Linked DNA regions of Homo sapiens: regions 1 and 2 are each linked to region 3. Evidence: promoter capture Hi-C in 16 types of primary human blood cells and fetal thymus (Javierre and others, 2016). All regions are on one chromosome and are shown on one strand. The core of a region is centred on a gene start or on the middle of the fragment in contact, and the rest is flanking DNA. Distances in the headings are between cores, read along the strand shown. Region 1 overlaps CTNNB1 (catenin beta 1). Region 2 overlaps CTNNB1 (catenin beta 1). Region 3 holds the start of ZNF621 (zinc finger protein 621).

Region 1 (2,700 bases), core at 186-2,685, 700 kb after region 3:
ATAATATTTTATAATAGTCTTCACAAGGAATTTTATATTTTTATTTTTAAAAATACATAGCAGTGAGTTTAATATACCAAACATACCAAAATGTCATCATTTACTGTGTGGTGGACTCATATGATGGAGATGATAAATAAAAATATTAATTTATTTGAGGCATATATTTATGGCTGAGGAAGGAAGACAGTTATGAAGAACAGCTCATTCTGGAAACATACTAATTTTTCCCAGCCATAAAGAGATTTCCTATTTCTTTTTTTTTTCCATTTACCTTCTGTTTCCTACCTGAGAAGATTTCATACTTCTAATAACCATTTGTGTACCTATTTAAAGACAGTACCAAAGGCATACATTTTAGTGTTTGGAGGACCAAGGGTCATTTGATGTTTGATGCTTATTGACTATTCGAGGATGACAAGACACCTTGAGAACACACACACCCACACCCACACCCACACCCTCACCCACCCACCCCACCCCCCTCCCCGAAGAAAGCTGTGAAGGAAGAAAGCAGAAAAGAACCTGGAGTGAGTTGTAACTTAAAATGTTAGTGTTGCATGAAGTGTGTTAAAACAGGAAGATTTGAGGAAATTGCATACATTTTCTAGATGGCAAAGTATTACTGGTGACAGTTAATGAAAATGCATATGCATGTGTTTTTAGATTTACAAATTTTACTAAGAACTTTTTAAAAATCCCTGAAGGTGTATCAAAAGTTTATCATGCTTATGAAATAGAGTAGCACTTTCTAACTTTAAAACGGGGAATAATTCTTTGGATCTTGATTATTGGAAAAGTGAATTATGAATTGCTAGTATAAAACTGTGGTTTTAAAATATGTCTGCTTTATATTTTTATGTAGCAGATTTACTCCTAGTTAATAATACTCAAACTTACTGAAAACTAAGGTAATTAAGATAATTCTGTCCTGATGGGAAGAGGAAAAATAACTTCAGTGTGAAATCTATTATATATTAGTTGTGGCAAGATTTCTCCCATTGACTTTGACTGGAGACATTTATAGGGTTAAAATCGGAAATAGCACGGTGAATTTTGAAGTATCCTTGTAGTTGGAAAGAGTATTATGTTCATATTGCCAAAAAAAAGATGCATGGATGCATTAGACTGGATGGAAAATACATGAGAAGTTGGCTAGCCCCCTCTTTGTCAAAACATCACTTGGTGGTGATAAAGCTGTTGGAAAACACAGCATTCTAATGTAGTCTGTAGTTTAATGATAATCTGTGTCTTGAAACATTTAGCGTAGTACTTATACAAACCTAGATGGCATAGTGTACTGCATGCCTAGCCTATATAGTATAGCCTGTTGCTTCTAGGGTGTAAAGCTGTATAGCGTGTTACTATAGGCAGTTGAAACAGTGGTATTTATGTATCCTTTTTTTTTTTTTTAAATTCTTTTAAGAGACAGGGTCTTGCTCTGTTGCCCAGGCTGGATGCATTGGTGTGATCATAGCTCACTATAACCTTGAACTCCTAAGTGATCCTCTTTGCCTCAGCCTCCCCAGTGGCTAGGACTACAGGCACATACTACCACACCTGGCTAATTTTTAACATTTTTTTGTAGAGATGGAATTTCGCTGTGTTGTCCAGGCTGGTCTTGGAACTCTTGTGCTGCAGCAATCCACCCGCCTCCCAAAGTGTTAGAATTACAAGCCACTTCGCCTGGCTTGTTTACCTAAACATAGAAAAGATCCAGTAAAAATACAGAATTAAAATCTTGTGGGGCCACTGTAGCATATGTAGTCCATCTTGACTGAAATGTCCTTATGCAGTGCATGATTGTACTTCATAATTTTTAAGCACTCCTCCCTCTTGATTGGTACTTAGTGGATTTTATCATTTTTGTTTCTTCATAATTCTTTCTGAAATGTCTACTGGTTGGACCTTTGATCTCCTGAATTGATCGTGATTTCTTCTGTTGTATTTTTTGTCTTTGTCATTTTTTTGTACTCTAGGCAGTTTTCTCAATTTTAGTTTCTATTCAACTTTTTGTTTTTATTTATTCTCTCCAGTATTTATGGAGATACTAAATTGAAGTGTTCTGTTTCTCTCTCCACCCTATCCCTAGTTTCAAGTTTTATCTCAGTTTCTATGGAGTCAGTTTTTTCGTTGCTTTAAAAAAAAATTTTCCTGAAGTGATTGGTAAGTTTTGGCTAATTGGGAGCACTAGAATTGGGCCCTTAATGGTTGGCAGGGTGTGGTGGAGGAGAGACAGCCCTTAGTCCAAAGGCTCAGGCCAGAAAAAGAAAGAGGAAGGCTTTCCTTTTCCTTTCCGGAGCAGGGTTCTGCCCTAGGTCTTGCTTGGCAGTCTATTTGATTTCTTTAGCAGTTAATGCTCAGTTTTTTGGCATATGTGGATCTGCCTCCAGAGCAGGTACAAGGTGAGTGAGTCTATGCTGTTACCTAATTAGATCCCCATTTCTACCCTTTGTTTTTACTTCTCTATCTACTGATAGGTTTTTACCCTCCTTCACCTCATAGGGTTGCAGTGAAGAGCAAGATGAATTTTTATTTATGTTGCATAAATTTTAAAAGCTAAAAAATATATATGTAATGTTGGGAAGTCCCAGTGTACAAATGGCTATTGTAAATTTGGAACATGAACTTGCTTTTTTCCATTGTAAAAATGAAATCATTATAAATTGCGGTCAAGTTACTAGGTCAGCCCACACAGAG
Region 2 (2,700 bases), core at 154-2,653, 720 kb after region 3:
TGTTGTAACCTGCTGTGATACGATGCTTCAAGAGAAAATGCGGTTATAAAAAATGGTTCAGAATTAAACTTTTAATTCATTCGATTGTGTCACTCTTTCTTTTTTTCTTGTCATTAATAAATGGTTTGTGAGGGTGGTAAGTAAGTTTATCCAACTCAACTTTATCCTGAACTTTATCCTGAGATAGATAGATACATAGTGAAGTAATTTGTTGTAGCGATAGAGAGGGCCCTACTTCTCTAGATGCAATTTGCCAAGTTTCTTTAGCATTTGGCCCTGGATTACGCTGGACCCCTAAAAAAGTGTTTCAGCCTTGCACATTGTGATTAGTTCTGGGCTTTGGTGGGAGAAAGCCAAGCAGACTATCCATCTATCTATCTCTACCCCAATCCCCCTCAGATGATTTGATTCCATTAAAGTAATGAAATAAATAGTAACTACCCCTACCTGGATTTGGATTTGAATCACCTTCACCCAAGTGTGACTCATTGGGAGAGGGGAATTCCTTCAACTGGACTTTGAACTAATAATAATTAAATAAATTAAATAGGTTTAAGTGTTGATGTTTATCTGAACATAATCAGAACCAGAATGAGCCTTCCACAGTACCTGCCAGATGATCCTATCATCCCGGTGGTAGGTCTGACAAGCTTAGTTCATCTCATCTCTTCAGGTAGACCTGTTTGTTAAGACTTGTGTTTTGGTCTTTTAAAAAGTAAAAGAAAGAAGTGTTTTGTCTTTAGGGAGAGCTCTTTCTGATTTACTGTTTTTATTTTGATGATGATTGATAGTGACTATTAATTATGAGAAAAACATACATTCAGTTCTTTTTCGTTAAAAATCAGCTTCATCTGGGGAGGCCTTTTTGTGAATGCCCTTGCTTTGCAAAAATGAATTCATTGTGGTCTAAAATGTAATTAGGGTTTGAAAAGAAACATTCACATAGCTGATGATGTGGTAGGTCTCAGGTTCTGTCTCATGTGTGATAAACCAAACCAGCCAGTATTTCAAGAAGCCTAGGGCTATTGGTAGGTTAACACCGTGAAGATCTTCAGTGAATTCAGCTTTTAACATAAAGAGCCACCGCACGGTGTTTCAATTACAGAAAGAACAACTTTTTAAAACCAGAGAATGTTTTCAGAGCTTTGCTAATTCATTGTATTTTATTTTTGAAGTTTAAAAACTTAATGTGAGAGTTAATCCAGTTCAACAAGGTGGCTCTGGAAGTACCAAGGGTGAATAATAGCCAAGACGCTTAGGAAAAATAGCACTTGCTCTAGCAGCTGTCAAGGCCTAACTACTTAATACAAAGCTAAAGTTAGTTAACCCTGTTACAGGAATAGGGATATAAATACAGATTAATACAGAATAATACACAGGCATTTAAAGACTCTTCAGAGACAGCGTTGGAGATCCGAGTGGGAGGAGAGCAACTTTTTCATAAAGGTGTGAAACAGCCGTTGGAATAAAACAATACAGAAAAACATCCATGACCCAACAAAATATCAAGATTTTAAATAAAGGCAGTAGTACTGATTTTTCTTTTGCCTCAAGCGCCAGTAAGGCTTGGTAGGGCACAACGCTGACAGTCTACACTGGACGCCCATGTGTCCAACAATCTCTGTTCACACGAGACAGTGCAGTGAAAAACTACAGCTTCAGTGATGTGGGTGTCAGTATAGTATGCATATATCTATCTCACATAACACTGAACAAAAGCAAGTTACAGATGCATGCTTTAGAACTCCATTGATCATCAATTAAAAAAAGGGACAAGCTATTTTAAGGAAAATATCCACAGATGGAGCAAGGAGATGATTAGATGACTATAGAAATCAGAATAATGGTTAACCTGGAGAGGGAGGTGCATGGGATGCTGGCAAGGTACCTAACCTTTCCTGTAAATAGTGGTGAAGAAAGTGAGGTCAAGTTTTCAATAAGAGAAGTAGTGGTGGGGAGGAAAAGGCCTAAAAGGAATGCTGCCCACTTGCATTTCCGGGTACAGGAGGTGAAAATGACAAAATGAACATGGCCGTTGAGAATAGGAGGGCTTTCCAGCCTGAGTGTTCTTTTTTCAGTTGTGCTGTAGTTATGAGACAGCCTTGAGAGTTAAGACATTTGATCCCATTGCAGCAACCACCATTGAACCAAAGAAGGAAGCTTTTCTATGTTGGAGCAGATCTTACAGACATGAGGCTTTGAAATCTGATGATCTGAATCCTTAATAATGAAAGATCTTAAGATAAACACACTCTTTAACTCTTGGTTGCTATAATAAAAAGATGTGAATTGTGCTGTTTTGTTTATAAAGCAAAAATGCTAAGTTGATCTGCAGTTCTATTAAGTGAGAACCTGCCTTTCCTTGCCTTGAGCAGATCACCCACCAAAGTGAAATTATGAAATGATGGGGCTGCAGGGGCTGTCAGGGCAGTTCTTCCTTTTTCTTTTATCGCAGCCTCCTATGTGGAATTCTGTATAATATCCATTCCACCACTTGAGACTCCAGTAAACGTAGAAGGAAGTGACAAGTTTCAGAGTTGAGGTTGTGGGGGAAGGTCAGAACAGGTATAGGGGTATGCAGGAAGGCAAAGGAGAAACCCCATCTCTATGTATTTCCAAAGTAGGTTTTGGCATGAATAGGGAAAGGTCCGTGTGTCCATAAATGTAATTTCCATGTTAGGTACGACTGAGAGCCACTCT
Region 3 (2,700 bases), core at 12-2,511:
GAGCTTGCAGTGAGCCGAGATTGCGCCATTGCACTCCAGCCTGGGCGACAGAGCGAGACTCCGTCTCAAAAAAACAAACAAACAAAAAACAAGCAAAAAAAAAAAAAACAAAGTCTGTCCATCTTAGCAACCACTTTGATACTGGAGAAAGGCTCCTGTCCAGAAGGAAGGGCACAGTAGTGAGGTACTTGCCAATGAGCTGGGTAGAGCTGCCACTGGCTGGCTTCGGGAAGTGTTTATCACTGACTGGCTCATGTTCAGAAGCTTGGAGTGAGGCTGTTGTGTACTGGTTGATTTTCAGAGTACGTGTACTGATCTAAAATTATGTAAATTAATGGCAAGTACTTGTTAGTGACTTGGGACTTTGGTCAAAAAACAGTCTTTTCCTTTCCTGAATATGAAAAGTAAGTTCTTTTAATTAGCAGCCTCCCCTCTTCACTGTTTTTTCTTCCTGCAGTCCAACTAACAGAACAGACCATAAAGGTCTGTCCAGATCATTATTTATGGAAGTATGAGATATATATATTTCAGCTGGTGTTAACATTTTATTTAAGTGCCAGTTACTGAGCAGAAAAATAGCTGTAACTACGAGTTTTTGTAATTTATTGGAAAAAGCTAAATATAAGACATTTAGGGTGTCCTCCCAAAGTCAACACAGGACAAGATCATTTAATATAGGACATGTCCTGTGTATACAGGATGCCTAGCAACTGTATGTAGCCACGGGTGTTTTGGTTGTTAAATGAATCTGTCCTAAAAGGTTCTACGCACATCTAGGTCCTTGGAAGGGAGAGGGCTAAAACGGCGAGTGGAAACCATGGTTTCCCTGAGGACTGCCCAGCTGAGGACCCAAGCAAGATCCTGGGCTTGGGCCTCTTAGAGATGACAAAGCAGGCGCCATTCTCCCCTCACCTGCACGGCCCAGGCTTCAGGTGAGCCACGGGGCCAAGGCGGCCAACAGCTGAGGCGCAGCCCGTGAACTGGGGGCCCACTTGTGCCTAGAGGGCGAGGTCTCGGTAGAGCCAGGCTGTATCAGTCCGTGACACTCCAGCCAGAGGCGATGCCGACGGCTGCCGGAGAAAGCCGGGCTTAGAGCGCCACAGTTCCACGCCCGCCGCCGGCCTCTCAGCCCAGCCGGTCGCCGCAACCTCGCCTCTTCCGCAGGGCGGGGCCAGCCATGAAAGGCGGGGCGGGTCTGGCCACGGGGCGACCGAGATGGCGGCCTCCGGGGGCCTAGAGGGACCCTGGGCGTGCACTCGCCCTTCCGGCTCGGCCTTTAGTTAGTGACCAGCTCCTCGGCGTTCTGCAGAGCGTGGGTTTCAGCGAGTTCTACGTGCCAGGTCCGCCCGGTGCCGGCTTCCTCGCTGCCCCTGGCGGCTCGTCAGCCCCCACTACCCCTGAACTTGGTCCCAATGGCGGCCCGCCCCTCCTTCACCCGGACCGTGGGCATCTGGGCCTCGCCGAAGCCGTCAAGGTGGCTGCTCGGGCTTCTAGAGCCCGTGTCCAGCCCTTTGCCACCGAGGCCTGATCCTCTTTTCTGCCCTAAAGAACTTGCCCTGACAGCCTCTGGCTCCCGGTACTGACGTTTCTGATGTTTGGGGTTGCCTGTTTTCTTGGGTGGAGTGTTAAGATCACGGTTGGGTGGGGTCTCCGGTCAGCATCACCCACTGGGACGCTGAGTATTTTACCCTTAATCCGCATTCAGCCACCCCAGTCCCTCTTCTCCTGAGGTTCTTTCTTTTGGGTCCACGTCATCGTCCCTGTAAGCATTCTGTAAAGACTCTTTACGTTTGTAGAGACCCAACACAATAGGGACAGGGCTCTTGGGTCCCTCAGTTTACCCGTACGAATGGGCTCAAAAAAAGCTCTTCGGACTGAGCAGGCAGGTGGAAGATTGTCCTGAAGACTAGGCAGAACAATTCATAAGAAGTTTGGGGCTATCAGCGTGAGAACAATTAGAGGGAGTCCTAGTAGAATCTCCGTGCATCCAGTGCTGGAAATGTGGAAACTGGGAGGGCCATAGGTTGCTGTAGGTGGTGGACGACAGGGTCCTTAGCACTCATGGCTCTTTTTCTCTTAGCTCTTGAGGATCTTGCTTGTCCAAACCCAGAAGACAGTGCATGAAGCCAGGGGACATCCGCCATGCTCCAAACAACTTGGCCTCAGGTGAGCTGAGCTTCTTTCAGTTTTTTTGTTTGTTTGTTTATGTTTTTTTACTCACATTAGCTATCAGATAATCAGGAAAGGATGAGGAAGGCCTAACTTGGCCAAGCTGTGTTTTCCCCTTTGTATCTATCTCCAGGGCTATGGCAGATGTAAATATGTGCTGGGGAAATGAAAGTTTTGTGTATAGAGAGTGATGAGTTTGGATGTATAGATTTAAATGGAAGAAAGGGGACCTATACCAAGAAATTCTTTCTGAATGTGGAAATCCAGATCGTGTTCTAGAAATGAAAGTCACCTACTGAAATCAGACTCATTTTTTGTGAGACGGAGTCTCACTCTGTCGCCCAAGCTGGAGTGTAGTGGCACTATGATATCGGCTCACTGCAGCCTCTGCCTCCTGGGTTCAAGTGATTCCCATACCTCAGCCTCCTAAGTAGCTGGGATTACAGATGTGCGCCGCCACGTGTGGCTAATTTTTGTATTTTTAGTAGAGACGGGGTTTACACCACGTTGGCCAGGCTGGTCTTGAACTCC

What was found. The method cuts DNA at HindIII sites, captures the fragments that hold promoters and counts their contacts. A CHiCAGO score of 5 or more calls a contact.
Region 1: a contact is called between a fragment that was not itself captured here and the fragment with the promoter of ZNF621 in region 3, in 2 of 17 cell types (naive B cells and total B cells). The highest score is 5.7, in naive B cells.
Region 2: a contact is called between a fragment that was not itself captured here and the fragment with the promoter of ZNF621 in region 3, in 1 of 17 cell types (total B cells). The highest score is 9.1, in total B cells.

The regions. Positions count from the first base shown.
Region 1 is chr3:41,219,941-41,222,640 of GRCh38, forward strand. The region is part of intron 1 of CTNNB1 (catenin beta 1); the gene reads left to right. Among named protein-coding and RNA genes, the nearest start is that of CTNNB1, 22 kb to the left of the region's middle. The HindIII fragment of the contact is 8,015 bases long and covers 1-2,700 here.
Region 2 is chr3:41,240,362-41,243,061 of GRCh38, forward strand. CTNNB1 (catenin beta 1) reads left to right here. Exons shown (of 15, transcript NM_001904.4): 15 at 1-82. Among named protein-coding and RNA genes, the nearest start is that of CTNNB1, 42 kb to the left of the region's middle. The HindIII fragment of the contact is 1,510 bases long and covers 649-2,158 here.
Region 3 is chr3:40,523,699-40,526,398 of GRCh38, forward strand. It overlaps ZNF621 (zinc finger protein 621), which reads left to right and starts at 1,262. Exons shown (of 5, transcript NM_198484.5): 1 at 1,262-1,576; 2 at 2,081-2,166. The coding sequence starts at 2,143. RefSeq lists enhancers at 864-953, 1,232-2,044, 1,604-1,743 and a silencer at 1,144-1,303. The HindIII fragment of the contact is 8,303 bases long and covers 263-2,700 here.